Regions from separate parts of the Homo sapiens genome. Here region 2 is linked to region 1. The links are contacts of gene promoters, found by promoter capture Hi-C in blood cells and fetal thymus (Javierre and others, 2016). All regions are on one chromosome and are shown on one strand. Each heading gives the region's core, a stretch centred on a gene start or on the middle of the fragment in contact. The rest is flanking DNA. Distances are from core to core; before and after follow the strand shown.

What was found. The method cuts DNA at HindIII sites, captures the fragments that hold promoters and counts their contacts. A CHiCAGO score of 5 or more calls a contact.
Region 2: a fragment that was not itself captured here is called in contact with the fragment with the promoter of CTNNBIP1-AS1 in region 1 in 3 of 17 cell types (M2 macrophages, total CD8 T cells and total B cells); the score reaches 5.7 in M2 macrophages.

What each region holds. Positions count from the first base shown.
Region 1 is chr1:9,842,949-9,849,625 of GRCh38, forward strand. It overlaps CTNNBIP1-AS1 (CTNNBIP1 antisense RNA 1), which reads left to right and starts at 5,370. Exons shown (of 3, transcript NR_199045.1): 1 at 5,370-5,518; 2 at 6,421-6,526. CTNNBIP1 (catenin beta interacting protein 1) reads right to left here. Exons shown (of 6, transcript NM_020248.3): 6 at 5,328-6,677. RefSeq lists enhancers at 1-226, 768-1,307, 5,369-5,870. The HindIII fragment of the contact is 10,320 bases long and covers 5,045-6,677 here.
Region 2 is chr1:9,776,303-9,783,482 of GRCh38, forward strand. The region is part of intron 1 of CLSTN1 (calsyntenin 1); the gene reads right to left. It also overlaps the pseudogene MZT1P1. Among named protein-coding and RNA genes, the nearest start is that of CLSTN1, 44 kb to the right of the region's middle. The HindIII fragment of the contact is 1,393 bases long and covers 3,470-4,862 here.

The DNA.
Region 1 (6,677 bases), core at 4,120-6,619:
AGCATTTCCTGATGGGCTCAATGCCCGGCAGGGGCCCAGCTGGCACAGGCTGGGCTGATTAACTCTCGCAGTGCCTGGAGGAGTCCTGGGAGGCAGCCAGATGGCTCAGGGCTCACCTCCAAAACCAGCCGGAGGCGCTGGGAGGAGCTGCGAGAGCTAGGAAGGAAGGTTCCAGATAGAACCCTGAGGGGCAGAGTCCGGGCTGCGCCTCCCAGGGTATGGCCTCTCTACAGTCTCAGCCCTCCTGATGGGGTGGAGGGCTGAATCGGTCGGAGAAGTCTATAGACTGCGTGGCAGGGTTCTACCCTGGGATGCAGGACCAGCCCCGGACTGACTCCCAAGGGACAAGCTGGCAGGGGCAGTCCGAGCTGGGCCTGGGAGGGTGGGCAGGGCCGCCACAGGCCTCTGGGCTGGGGGCTGGGGCTGAGCCTTGCTGAGGGAGCACAGGTACAGCCACACCATAGGCCTGGCTGGAGGGGCCACCTCAGGCCAGTGAGGCCATCAGATGCTACCTGGGGAGGCTACCTGGGCACTGCAGGGGGGGGTGGATGGGCCCCCCAACTCCGCCCCACTACTGACTCCGCCAGGTCCCTTCCCCAACTGGAAGCTCAGCCCCTCCACCAAGCCAGCCCCTTTCACACAAGGATACACAAGGATGTGCACCTACGGTAAACAAAGGGCTATTTTTATAGCCTCATTGTTTCCTCTGGCAGCTTCCTAACTCCCCAGCCAAGGTACACCTCAGTCCTCCCTCCGGGCACACTGCAGACCTCCAGCTCTGCAGGCTCTGCAGGCTCCGCCCTGCCAGGTGCTGGCAGCTCGGGACTCCACCACCCCTCAGGGGCTGCGCAGAGGAGGCCAGGGCCTAGGGTGCAGCCAGGGCCCAAGGTGAGGAGCTGTGGCCTCTTCCTGTTCTGCAGATGGAGGCCTGAGGCTGGGAAGCGGCACTGAGGGGTCACGGGGCATCACCCACTGCCATGGGGGCATCTCTCAGCTGGGCCCACCTAGACCTATGTCCTGAGTCAGCAGCCTGGCCTCTTGCCCAAAGATGTCAAGTGTTGGGGGTGGCCATGCTCTGTCCTAGGGCTAGAGTAGCCTGGGCATGGAGGCAAAAGAAAGAAAGCAGACCAGACTGTCAGTTTTAGTGTTTTGAAATTCTCTCCAGACAATACACCCCCTTATTGCCTGAACCCCAGGCAGGCTGCTCCCCCGTCCGTGTCCCCCCACCCTTGGCTCACCACTGCCGGTGCCCACCCACTGAATCCAGACAACAGCCAATGAGGCAGTTGCCATGACTGTTCCCACGTTCCAGATTAGGAAACAGGCTCGGAAACATCGAGTGATTTGCCCACGACACAGTCATTGGCAGAGTCTGGATTCGATCCCAGGTCTGCAGTTCCGGAGCTCGGAGCCCAGGCCCTGCCTCCTTGGGCAGGATGTGGGCCTCCCCCCACAGCAGCCACCCTCCCAGCCTCCCCATCTTTGGGGTGAGGGGTGCGGAGTCTTGGGGCCCTGGGGGGCTGGGAAGGCAGGAGGAGGGGCTGGCCGGGAGGGAGGGGTGCTGGGGCCCAAGATGGCTCTGTCTTCCTCCTCCTCTTCCTCCTCCTCCTATTTGCTCTGAGGCAGAGCCGGCTGCAGTGAGAAGGAGCCGCTGGCTGTGATGGGTTTTTTTTAACCACTTGATCATGATCAAGGATTTAATTTTATCCCCTTTCCTGACTGGCTGTGATTCTATTTGGAGTTTAAGCACGAGGCGAGCAGGAGGGTCCCTGGAAAACAAGACTCCCACCCCCAGGCTCTGCCGAGGTCCCTCCCTGCCTGTCCAGCCATGACAGAGTCCACCCTGAGGGGACACCCTTCTCAGCTGGCAGGTTTTGGGGAAGGCGGAGGGGCTCTGCTCCAGTGAGCCCCCGTCCCCGAGGCAAAGCGGCTCAGCAGAGGGAGAGGCTCAGGGCAGGGGCTGGGGAGCTGGAGGCAGCTCTGGCCTTGGCTTCTACAAAGGGATCATCTGGGCTCCTTCATCCTCATCAAAGAAGCATTTTCTAAGCACCTCGCAGGACCTGGGGCTGTGCTCCTCCCCACACCAAAGGCTGCTGACAAGTCCTCGCTCTGTGTGACTTTTGAGTAGAGAGGATGGGGTGGAGAGAACCCACTATGGTGACTTAACAATGACCTTATGTCCTGACCCCCCACTGGTCGCAGGTCACTCTGCTAAGCGTGTCATATGCATCATCTCATTAGTTGTCACCAACAACCTCTGGCCCTGATGCTCTTATTTTTTCCATTTTTTTCAATAAGGTTCATCATTCACCCCAAGTCACACAGCTGCCAAGTGACAGATTCAGTCCTGCCTCCAGTTGGCCTCCACAGTTCCCACTCTAAACCATGATGTCTCCCCAGCCCCCAGCTATGTGGACATAAAGATTTAGGCTGTGGGGTCAAACAGTCCTCGAAGATTTAAAGTGGAAGAGGAACTCTGGCAAAATCAGCTTAGCTTGGAGGTGAAGTGCTAGGTCCGCATGGGAGGCTTCAGACAGACCCAGGGAGCTTCGGGGCAGCCTAGGAACATACCTCGCACGTGACTGAGCATGCGCCTTCACACAGGTACCATCCAGTCAACATTAGCTGTGTTGTTAACACTGGGACACACGGCTGGGCCTGGTGGCTCACGCCTGGCCAACATGGTGAAACCCCATCTCTACTAAAAATACAAAAATTAGCTGGGTGTGGTGGTGGGTGCCTGTAATCCCAGCTACTCAGGAGGCTGAGGCAGGAGAACTGCTTGAACCGAGGAGGTGGAGGTTGCAATGAGCTGAGATCATGCCATTGCACTCCAGCCTGGGTGACAAGAGCAAGACTCTGTCTCAAAAAAAAAAAAAAAAAAAAGACCGAGACATAGGAGACACCTGTCAAAGATGTTTGTGAAGATCCACCTCCTTCCACTGGAAGCAGCATGGTCAAGACCAAGGGTCAGGCAGTGGAAACTCTCAGAGGCTCTGGGTCTGAAGTCACCTCCTCTGGGGTTGCGCAGGGCGGGGCGGGGCTCCCACAGGTGTGCAAACAGGGACGACCACCTGTTGCACACACCCCTAACCTAGGGGCTCTGGAAGAGGAGCAGGGGCAGGGTGGGTAGGGCGTGGCTCGTCCCTGCATCAAGAACGCTCATGACTTCCGTGCTGGCAGGACTGGAAGGCCCTTCTGGGAACCATCTGTGATGGGGAAGTTCCAATGTCAGGGAGAAAAGTGAAAGCAAGACACTAGTTGATATTCAAAAGGCATTTCACTGCCCTTGTCCCTTGAGAAGGACTTTCTTCAAATTAGAAAGTCCTAATAGGACTCGCCCTGCAAGTCCCCCCAAATCTCCTGAACATCAGTTGTTTCCCAGAAGATCAAGTGCTTTCAGTGGACAGTGCAGAGCGGGGAAACGTTTTCTCAGCACAGCCTCAGGTTAGTCGGTTAGTCTGGGTGCATTTTATCCTTCGGGAAATGAAAAGGGTTGGGTGGCCATGGGCAACCCAGAAGAGGGAGGGAGAGAGATAAAGACAGAGAGAGAGAGAGAGAGAAATGAACCTGCCCTGCCCAAGCAAAGGCGGCACCTGGGTGGTGTCAGGGGTCCCCTGGGGCCAGAGTTCCCCCTACCACCAATGGAAGGGATCATATTCCCTGCTAAAAAGACCCTCTTCAAAGGCTGGGGCCCGCCTGGATTCTCAGTGCTGGTATTCACCTGCAGGGACAGGGAGAAGAAGCGCTTCATTCATTCTCAACTGCCCGCCCCCCAAGGCTGGGAAACACCAAGGGCCACAGCCCTCAGCCTCCCCACCCCAGGCTCGGCCTGGCCCCCTGCTGTCTCCGGCAGCTCTGCCTCCTTCCCCGCAGGCTCAGCCTGGCCCCCTGCTGTCTCTGGCTGCAGCAGTCCCAGCGCTGCCTGTTGGGGTCATTACCCCATCCCGTACCTGGGAAGGTGACCCAGGAGGTTGCCTGCTGTGTGGGCTGACGGACCCCGAAAGACCCAAGGCTGTCCCCAGTGTTTTTCCTTTGCCTGCTGAAGTGTCCCCGACTCATTTACGTGGCCTACTTCCCATGACAGTTTAGGCAGCTTAGACAGGTTAGACAGCGCCAGGAGGACGACCCCGCTTGGCTCCGGTTTCCAAGCTCTCTGCTGGGGGCTGGGCAGGTGGGACCAGGGCCAGCCGGTCAGTCCCTTGAACTACTCAGTGGCTCAGCTTAGAAGAGCTGATTAACTACAAGGCTGACAGTGTCACTCAGAGCGCTGGGCAAGGGGTGGAATCTGCACATAATCTACCTACCACGGACCCTTGGATGTGTGTCTCTATGTAACTTCTGGTTAACACAGCAATCTCTGTCTTTCTCTCAATGACTGCAAACTCCTTTCTGGACAAGAAGTTACAGAAAGAGGCAGATCAACTTAATGTAAGGATAAGCATAGGTTACATGAACATGGTCTGGACTAACTTGTGAGGTAGTGAGCTCCCCAACTCGAGAGAGTATTCAAGCAAAGCCTGGACAAGGTCTTTTCAGAAATGTTTCAGAGGGGCTTGTGCATCTAGCTACTGCGTGGGCTGCTACAAGACCCAGTATCTCCCCCAACACAAAGACTTAATGATGTTGGTTGTGCCATTGTACTCATATTCTGTAAACTCCATAGCCTCTAGGACCCAGTGAAATTCTTTGAAAAGGAAATAGAAGCAGTGAGACTATGTAAACAGAAAAAAAAAAAAAAAGACCCAAAAATGGGATTATGAAGGGTGGAAATGAAAATTTCTAGAAAATGCTTCTGAAGCAAAAATTATTGAAGCAGAAATGATTTCAGCTTCCAAACTTGTACATACAGCTAAAAACCAATATATCTTCCACTTCTGGGATGGTGGAAGGGACAGATATTCTGTTTGGGTGTCTGTAACAAGCATTTTAAAACTGGTGCCATCACATCAGGATGTTGGGGTGCCTAGGATGGCGGGGTCCCCACATCCTTACGGAGTGCTTAGTGTCTTTTCATAGGTGTGGAAGACGAGGTTGCCTCTGAAGCTTACTGATCTCAGTTGAATCTGGAATGATGTTTAGAATCTCCAGGTCAAAAAGAAGGTTCAACCTTCTTAACGACCCTTGAGCTGGGCTGGGTAGATCTAGAAATTCTTCCAAACCCTGAGCTCAACTCAGGTCACAGACACTTATCAAACTTGGTGTTGTCCTTCCTGGCTGCGCCTCCCTGGGAAGGAGGGGCCCCCGCAGCAGCAGAGCCCACGTGATGTGGGGAAATCAGTCAGAGCGCCTGATTCCGAGGGAGAAACCAGCTCAGCTCACACACGAACCTATGAAAATTCTTTATTGTTAATTTCTTTCTCCAACAGATATATTTTTAGTTGAAATATGGAGCCACAGCAACACTTTGACTTTTCCTCTTCAGAAGATGAGACAGGCCGGGGTCATCATTGTTACAAAAGCAAGGCCTGTGATCGTGACAAGGACAGGCTGGGGCAGAGACCACACACTCAACCAGGTATCCACCAGGTGTGGGCCCTTTATAGGAGCTACAAAGAGGGGGCAGCCAGCAATGTGGCCTCGACACCTGACTCCAGGCACTCCGACCTGGAGGAGGGAGATGAAAGAACTCACCTTTCCCCAGGGGCTCAGCCAGACCTCCAGGCCCCTGAGCGGGGAGAGTGCGTGTGTGTGCACATGTGTATGAGTGTGCACACGGGTGTGCTCACTCACACAGCACATGCACACATGCGCTGCCCCTCCTGAGATGCTCTCAGGTCCCTGCCAGGGTAGGGTTGTAGCTGTGTTCCCCACAGCTGACTGTCAGCTAACCAGGGCTAGGGGTGAGTGCATGGTGGAGGACACAGGGTCTTAGCCTGATGCTCGAATCCTCCTTCTGGAACAGGCTGATGGTGCCAGAGCACAGCACGAACCACCTACCCACCATGGGGCTCTCCAGGGCTCGGTCATTTGGCTCCTGTGCACTTCATGACACTCAGGAGCCCCTACGGCCCGAGCCCCAAGCCCCGAGAAAGGGGAAAGATTTGGTTCTGAGAGGGTCCCACTGGCCCTGGGCACCTAGGGGCCTCAGCATCTACCAGCATAGGGGAGGGTGGCGGCCCCCTTCCTGAGGACTGCATCTTTCTCCAGCCGCTCTCCCCAGATCCCACACCTGCCAGTGAGCCAGGGAGATAGGAGGACCACCTCCCTCCCAGGGAAGGGGGTGGCAGGTGGAAGGACTTAGGTTTGGTGCAGGAACACTAGACCTGCCCCTCACCCCCTGCCTCCAGGACTGCCATTCTGAACTGCAATTCTGGGCCTGAGTTTGGCTTAAGGGCCAGTCTGAAGGGACTTGCTTGGTGAAGGCCCAGCCAGCTGTCCCAGTGGCATTTCATAAACAAACGATACTGTCCCTTCCAGGCTGACCTGGAGAGAGACCCTTCCAAAGGCAGTGGAGTGGAGGGCATGGGCCTCCGATGAGAGAACTCCAGAGCTGGCCGGGACCTACTGTGCTGGCAGCAGACAGGTAGGAGCCTGGCTGGGGTAGGTCAGGGGTTGGTGTTTAGCTGGAGGTCTCCTGGGCCTTGTGAGCCAAGCTGGGGCTTTTATGTGGGTTCTGGGCTCCCAGAGACCTCCGCCAGATGACCTCCAGAGTCTTTGGGGTCTCACACTGGGAG
Region 2 (7,180 bases), core at 2,916-5,415, 68 kb before region 1:
CATTTGTACACACTACATCCAAGCCAAGAGCAAATCCTTCTGGCTTCACTTCCTAAATAAACCCAGACCCCGGGGAGTTGTTGTTTAATGGGTATAAAATTTCGGTTTTGTGAGATGAAAGGAATTTGGAGGTTGGTTGCACAATAGTGTGAATGTACTTGATGCTACTGAACTGAACGCTTCAAAATGGTAGACAGGAAAATTTTGCTGTAGTTTACATTTAAAAAAAAAAATCCACATACACACAAACTCAGACACAGCCATTTCTTACCTCCTTCCTGAAAGGTCACAAAAGCCAAGTAACAAGCCTCCCTGTCCTTATCCCGGCACTTACTCGGCAGCCAGAGGGAAGCTTCTACAACAATGGGTCTTCAACTTTGGGGTCTCAGAACCCCTGTACACCAAAAAGTTACTGAGGGACCCAAATAGCTTTTGTTTAAATGGATTGGTCAGTCAGTTGATTATCCATCCATCCACCCACCTATCTCTATCTATCTATCTATCTATCTATCAGCATTTATCTATCATCTATCAGCATTTATCTATCATCTATCAGCATTTATCTATCTATCTATCTATCTATCTATCTATCTATCTATCTATCAGCATTTACTACACTGAAAATTAAAACCAGTCCAGGAGCAGTGTCTCATGCCTGTAATCCCAGCGTGTTGGGAGGCTGGCCACACAGATCACTTGAGGTCAGGAGTTTGAGACCAGCCTGGCCAACATGGTGAAACCCTCCTGTCTTTACTAAAAATACAAAAATTAGCCGGGTGTGGTGACACGCACCTGTAGACCCAGCTTCTCGGGCGGCTGAGGCAGGAGAATTGCTTGAACCTGGGAGGTGCAGGTTGCAGTGAGCCAAGATTGTACCACTGCACTCCAGCCTGGGCGACAGAGCGAGACTGTCTCAAAAAAAAAAAAAAAAAAAAGCCTGGGAGTGGTGGCTCAAGCCTGTGATCCTGGCACTTTGGGAGGCCAAGGCAGGCGGATCACTTGAAGTCAGGAGTTCAAGGCCAGCCTGACCAATATGGTAAAATCCTCCTGTCTTTACTATAAATACAAAAATTAGCTGGGCGTGGTGGCACACACCTGTAGTCCCAGCTACTCAGGAGGCTGAGGCAGGAGAATCACTTGAAACCGGGAGGTAAAGGTTGCAGTGAGCCAAGATCTCGCCACTGCACTCCAGCCTGGACAACAGAGCGAGACTATGTCTCAAAAAACAACGACGACAACAAAAAAGATAATTTTAATACTTATTAACTCATTTAAAAAACAAACACATTATATAATACATTCACATAAACAATATTTTTATGAAAATAACTTTTTGAAAACAAAGCTTACTAAGAAGAGTGGCAACAGTTTTGTTTTTGCAAATCTTTGTTGTCCACCTTCACAGAAGACACCTGAGTTCTCGTCTCTACCCCCGCTCCCCCTGCACTCAGCCTGCTGCCTTGCTCCCCTTAACATAGTCTCTAGAAAATGCCACAGTGCAGCCTAAGAGGATGAGAAAACGGCAAATAATGTCTTAATATTGTTACAGTTCTGCCCTCTCGCATCCTGCCAGGGTTTCAGGGACTCAGTATCTCACTCGGGCTCTGTTGAAAAGGTCCTTCCTGCTGCTCTCACCAACCTCGCTCTGTCCCTCTGTTCCAACACCTGGGGAGAAGACGGCAGGGGAGGGCACTGGAGCCCAGTGCCCAAAGGCCTGGGTGGGACCTGCCTGGGCTCCAAAGGGCCCGCGACCTCAGGGCCTTCGCTTCCTCATCTAGAAAATGGGGACAATAATAGTCCCCATCTCATAGGTCGTTGTGTGATTAAACATGCAATCACAGTTCATTACATATAAAATGTTCAGAAGAGTGTCTGGCACTCAGTAAGTATCAAAAGGTGGTGGTGTTATTTCTCCTCCCCAACACACACACACACACACACACACACACACACACACACACACACACGCAGACTGTGAGAAAGTGGCCTTTTCATTCTCTAATTCCCAGTACCTGGAATTATGCTTAGCACACATGCAGGAACTATTTGGGAAATGAGTATATAAGAAACCTCAAATGCGCAAATCAGATCAGTTGCCCTGATTTATGAATTCTCTCATGGAGAAGATAGCTTTGGAGCTGGGAATTCAAAAGATACTGCGAAGGTGTTTTTTTTTATTTTTGTTTGTTTCTCCAGGTGGATGTTCTGAGCAAGAGAGCTAGAAAATCTAGAGACAACGCACGAAACCAACAGGTCAAAAGACATCAGTCTGGAAAAGGTTAAGTTATGGAAGGTTAGATTACAGAGGGACTTAATATGAAATCAAACCCAGACCATAAAGACCAAAAATAAAAGTGTCTTTGAAATCCGTCTTCTCCCCCCGTCCATAGGCTGCTCTGAAACAAGAGACTGGCTAAGAAGAGAATAAGGGGCCGGATGCGGTGGCTCACGCCTGTAATCTTAGCACTTTGGGAGGCCAAGGCGGGTGGATCACCTGAGGTCAGGAGTTCGAGACCAGCCTGGCCAACATGGTAAAACCCCGTCTGTACTAAAAAAAAAAAATTACAAAAATTAGCCGGGCGTGGTGGCAGGCAACTGTAATACCAGCTACTCAGGAGGCTGAGGCAGGAGAATCGCTTGAACCCAGGAGGCAGAGGTTGCAGTGTGCCAAGACCGTGCCATTGCACTCCAGCCTGGGAGAGAAGCGAGAGACTTCGTCTCAAAAAAAAAAAAAAAGAAGAAGAAGAAGAAGAAGGCTGGCTATGGTACGGCACCTTTCTCCTGCGAGCCTCCCTGGAGCAGCAGGGGGTCTGCCGGCAGGAGGTATGTGTGAGGCTGTCTGTGGGAGCTTTACGCACAGACTGCACCAGCATCAGGTCTGAAACGGCTCTCTGAGAGAATAACTTGACTTTGCAATCAGGTTGAACACTTTATCTAACCACTGAAACTCAACATCCTCTCCAGATTATCTTTTTAAAAAAATTTTTAGGACGGGTGCAGTGGCTCATGCCTGTAATCCCAGCACCTTGGGAGGTCAAGGCAGGCCAATTACCTAAGGTGAGGAGCTCAAGACCAGCCTGGCCAACATAGTGAAACTCCGTCTCTACCAAAAATACAAAAATTAGCCAGGCGTAATCCCAGCTACTCAGGAGGCTGAGGCAGGAGAATCGCTTGAACCCGGGAGGTGGAGGTTGCAGTGAGCCAAGATCGCACCACTCCAACATGGAGAAACCATGGAGTTTGACTCCAGCCTGGGCGACAAGAGTGAAACTCTGTCTCAAAAAACAAAAAAAAAAGTTTTTTTAGTTGAGATGAAGTCTTGCTATGTTGCCCACGCTGGTGTCAAACTCCTGAGCTCAAGCAATTCTCCCACCATGGCCTCCCAAAGTGCTGGGATTACAAGTGTGAGCTACAACATCCAGCTCAGGTATCTATGAAAATAAACCATGCTATGATGTAGGCTGGAAGAAGCTTAGAGTTACAGATGTAAGATAGGCCATTTTAAAGAAAGGACTCCAAAAACTCCATTGTTTGTTACCAATCTTTCACTTTCTTTTTTTTTTTGAGATGGAGTCTCACTCTGTGGTCCAGGCTGAAGTGCAATGAATGGTGCAATCTGGGCTCACTGCAACCTTTGCCTCTCAGGTTCAAGTGATTCTCCTGCCTCAGCCTCCTGAGTAGCTGGAATTACAGACGTGCATCACCACACTCGGCTAATTTTTTTGTATTTTAAGTAGAGATGGGGTTTCACCATGTTGGCCAGGCTGGTCTCGAACTTCAGACCTCAGGTGATCTGCCTGCATTGGCCTCCCAAAGTGCCAGGATTACAGGCATGAGCCACGGCATCCGGCCTCCAATCTTTCATTTTAAAGCAAAAATTGCTAGTTCAATTTGCCACTAATCAAATTAATATTCGATTCCAATTTGGCTTCATACTTTAAGGTTTTATTAATAAAATTACAAGCACTATAAATACTAAAACTAAATATTCTTCTAATATTTGAGTCCATAAAACTCCTGAGACTTAAACTAAATGAATTTATGTCTTTATTTAGCCCAACGGGGATGTAAAAATACCAGGCAGAGCACATTACAGAAAACCCATGATGAGTAGTAACGTAAAATGTGTGTTTCTGCTGCCCAAATGGAAAGGCCTGCAGCTGAAATGGTTAAGGGTTCGGTGGAAAAATAACTGTGTAACTATGTTCCCAGTATTCCAATTTTATAATTCAAATTTTCTAAATCGCTCTTAAGCTGGCAGTAGAATGAGATCTGGCCAGTTCCAAACACTGAACTTTTAAATATTTAATGAGTGATATTTTTAATATTTCATCACATTCAATTTGCATCATAAAACATTTACAGAAACAAGTGACCGATGTTTCTGTCATCATCACAAAAAAATGGCAAAGACAAGAGACTACTGGCTGCAAGTCTAGGAACGTGTCACCTATGTCGGAAGTCTATACCTGACTCATTTCATCACATTCTAGGAGGTTTTAAAAAACAAACTAAACTGCTTCTCCTGCCTCCCTTGGCCTCAGCCATGGCGAGTAGCCGTGGCAGCGAATCCAAATGCGGTGCGGGAGACCATGGACAGGATGCTGAATAAACTGTGTGTTGTGCACCTGCATCTTGACTTTGATCCATCACATGAGGTGTGGAATTTTCCACTGTGGTGTCATGTCGGTGCTTAAAAAGTTTCGGATTTTGGAGCATTTCACATTTCAGGTTTTGGGATTAAGAGTATCCAACCTGTACTAATCACACATTCTGCTTGAGATTTCAAGAATTTAGAATGCTGGCTTAGATATGGAAACTCCTATTTGTGTACGGCTTTGTGAACAAGAAATTAACCCAGAAGCTTTATCATCAGTTATTAAGGAGCTTCGCAAGGCTACTGAAGCACTAAAGGCTGCTGAAAATATGACAAGCTGATTTTCTGGGGAAATTCTGATGAGATATGTCAAGCTCTGCAAGAGGATTTAAAGATTGCACTGTAGTCGAGAATGTACAATGATACTGAATGCAGCAGTGTAGAAAAATTTTCCTTTTTAAAAGAATTATAAAACCATAGCATTATAAATCAGTGGAAAGTGGCTTACAGACAGAACTATCAGATGTGTTTACATCACATCTTATTCTTTTTTTTTTTTTTGAGGCGGAGTTTCGCTCTTGTCACCCAGGCTGGAGTGTAGTGGCGTGATCTCGGCTCACTGCAATCTCTGCCTCCCGGGTTCAAGCGATTCTCCTGCCTCAGCCTCCCAAGTAGCTGGGATTACAGGAGTGCACTACCACACCTGGATAATTTTGTATTTTTAGTAGAGATGGGGTTTCTCCATGTTGGTCAGGCTGGTCTTGAACTCCCGGCCTCAGGTGATCCGCCCAACTCGGCCTCCCAAAGTGCTGGGACTACAGGAGTGAGTCACCGCGCCCAGCTTATTCACTTTTTTTAACGGCTCTAATGCTTCCACATCGCCATGTTCATATTTATGTATTCTTTATTTATAGCTTTGATAGCTTTAATTTTCTAAGCAGTCTATCAGATGTGCACATCTGCTGTGCCTGTAGTGGAACCCATCAGTAGTAATGTGTAGTAGTTGTGACTTGTTGACATTTCCACTATAAATTTTAACTTTGAATTGTTTATGCATTATAACTGTGGATTTATATTGTATTGGGCTGAAAGCTGACACTATTTCAGCCACCATTGGTGAATTCTGATTTAGATTCATTATGTATGTCGGAATCTTGTTTTTTAAAATAAGAGCATGGAAAACATTTCTTGCAATCTGATCTTTAACAAAGAATACTTAGTTTTTTAAACAGTTTGTTGGGCAGCTAATAATGTGAACCAGGTCATTTTTGTATTGAGTAAAAATTTAAACTTCTAGAAACTTAGATTTTAAAAGTAATGACAATGCTTAGGTTAGTATTATTTGCAATTCGAATCATTTACAGCTAATGAGAATGTTTTCTTAAAGTTTTATACCCTATAAATGGAGGCCTAAAAAAATGTGTAAAATGAAACATAGCAAACATGCCAAACTCCTGTTTACTTTTCTTACATAAAAGTAATTTGAGTCCTTGACTAATAAATCTTGAATGGTTATTTAATAAGTTATTAGGTAAGTAATGTGTTTCAAAAAAAAACTAAACTTTGAATGTATTAATTTAAAACTATGCAAAAGCAAAGCTGGCAATCAAACCTTCTACAAGTGCAGGCTGTAGCTAGGCACACACCTATCATTTCAGGATATGACTCATTTTTTAGGGTTATGGTAGATTTCAGTCATTAGAAATTATTTGATTTTTAAGTCAAGATGAAAAAAATACAATAATCAACTTTAGGATTAACATGAATATAAGCTATGCTGCCCCAGCACAACCCAACTCTGTGGGCTAAAGAGAGGCTAGACCCGGGCCGGGCGTGGTGGCTCACACCTGTAATCCTAGCACTTTGGGAGGCCAAGGCAAGCAGATCACCTGAGGTCAGGAGTTCAAGACCAACCTGGCCAACATGGTAAAACCCCGCCTCTATTGAAAATACAAAAATTAGCCGGGCGTGGTGGCACACGCCTATAATCCCAGCTACCCAGGAGGCTGAGGTAGGAGAATAGCTGGAACCTGGGAGGCGGAGGCTGCAGTAAGCTGAGATCGCGCCATCGCACTCCAGCCTGGGTGACAGAGCGAGACTCCATCTCAAAAAGAAAAAGAGAGAGAGAGGCTGGACCCATGCCTAAGTCTCACAAGTAACGGGGATTTCAGCAGGTTGGTTGCAGAGCCCAGACGCCAACCACAGGTCCCAGGGTGGCCCTGATATCAGTCAACCCAGTACACGAACAGTTCCTTTCCGGTTTATTCACTCATATGGATGGTTCCCCACTTACAGTGGCTCAACTTAGGATTTTTAGACTTTACAAAGATGGGTTTATCAGAAGATAAACCTGATTGTAAGTAAAGAAGACTTTGTAACTAGAAATCCACGGTTTCCAGCCAGGCGCAGTGGCTCACACCCATAATCCCAACACTTTGGGAGGCCCAGGTAGGAGGATTGCTTGAGCCTAGAAGTTCGACACCAGCCTGGGTGACAAGGTGTGATCCCGTCTCTACAAAAAAATGTTTTAAAAAATTAGGCTGGACACAGTGGCTCACGCCTGTAATCCCAACACTTCGGGAG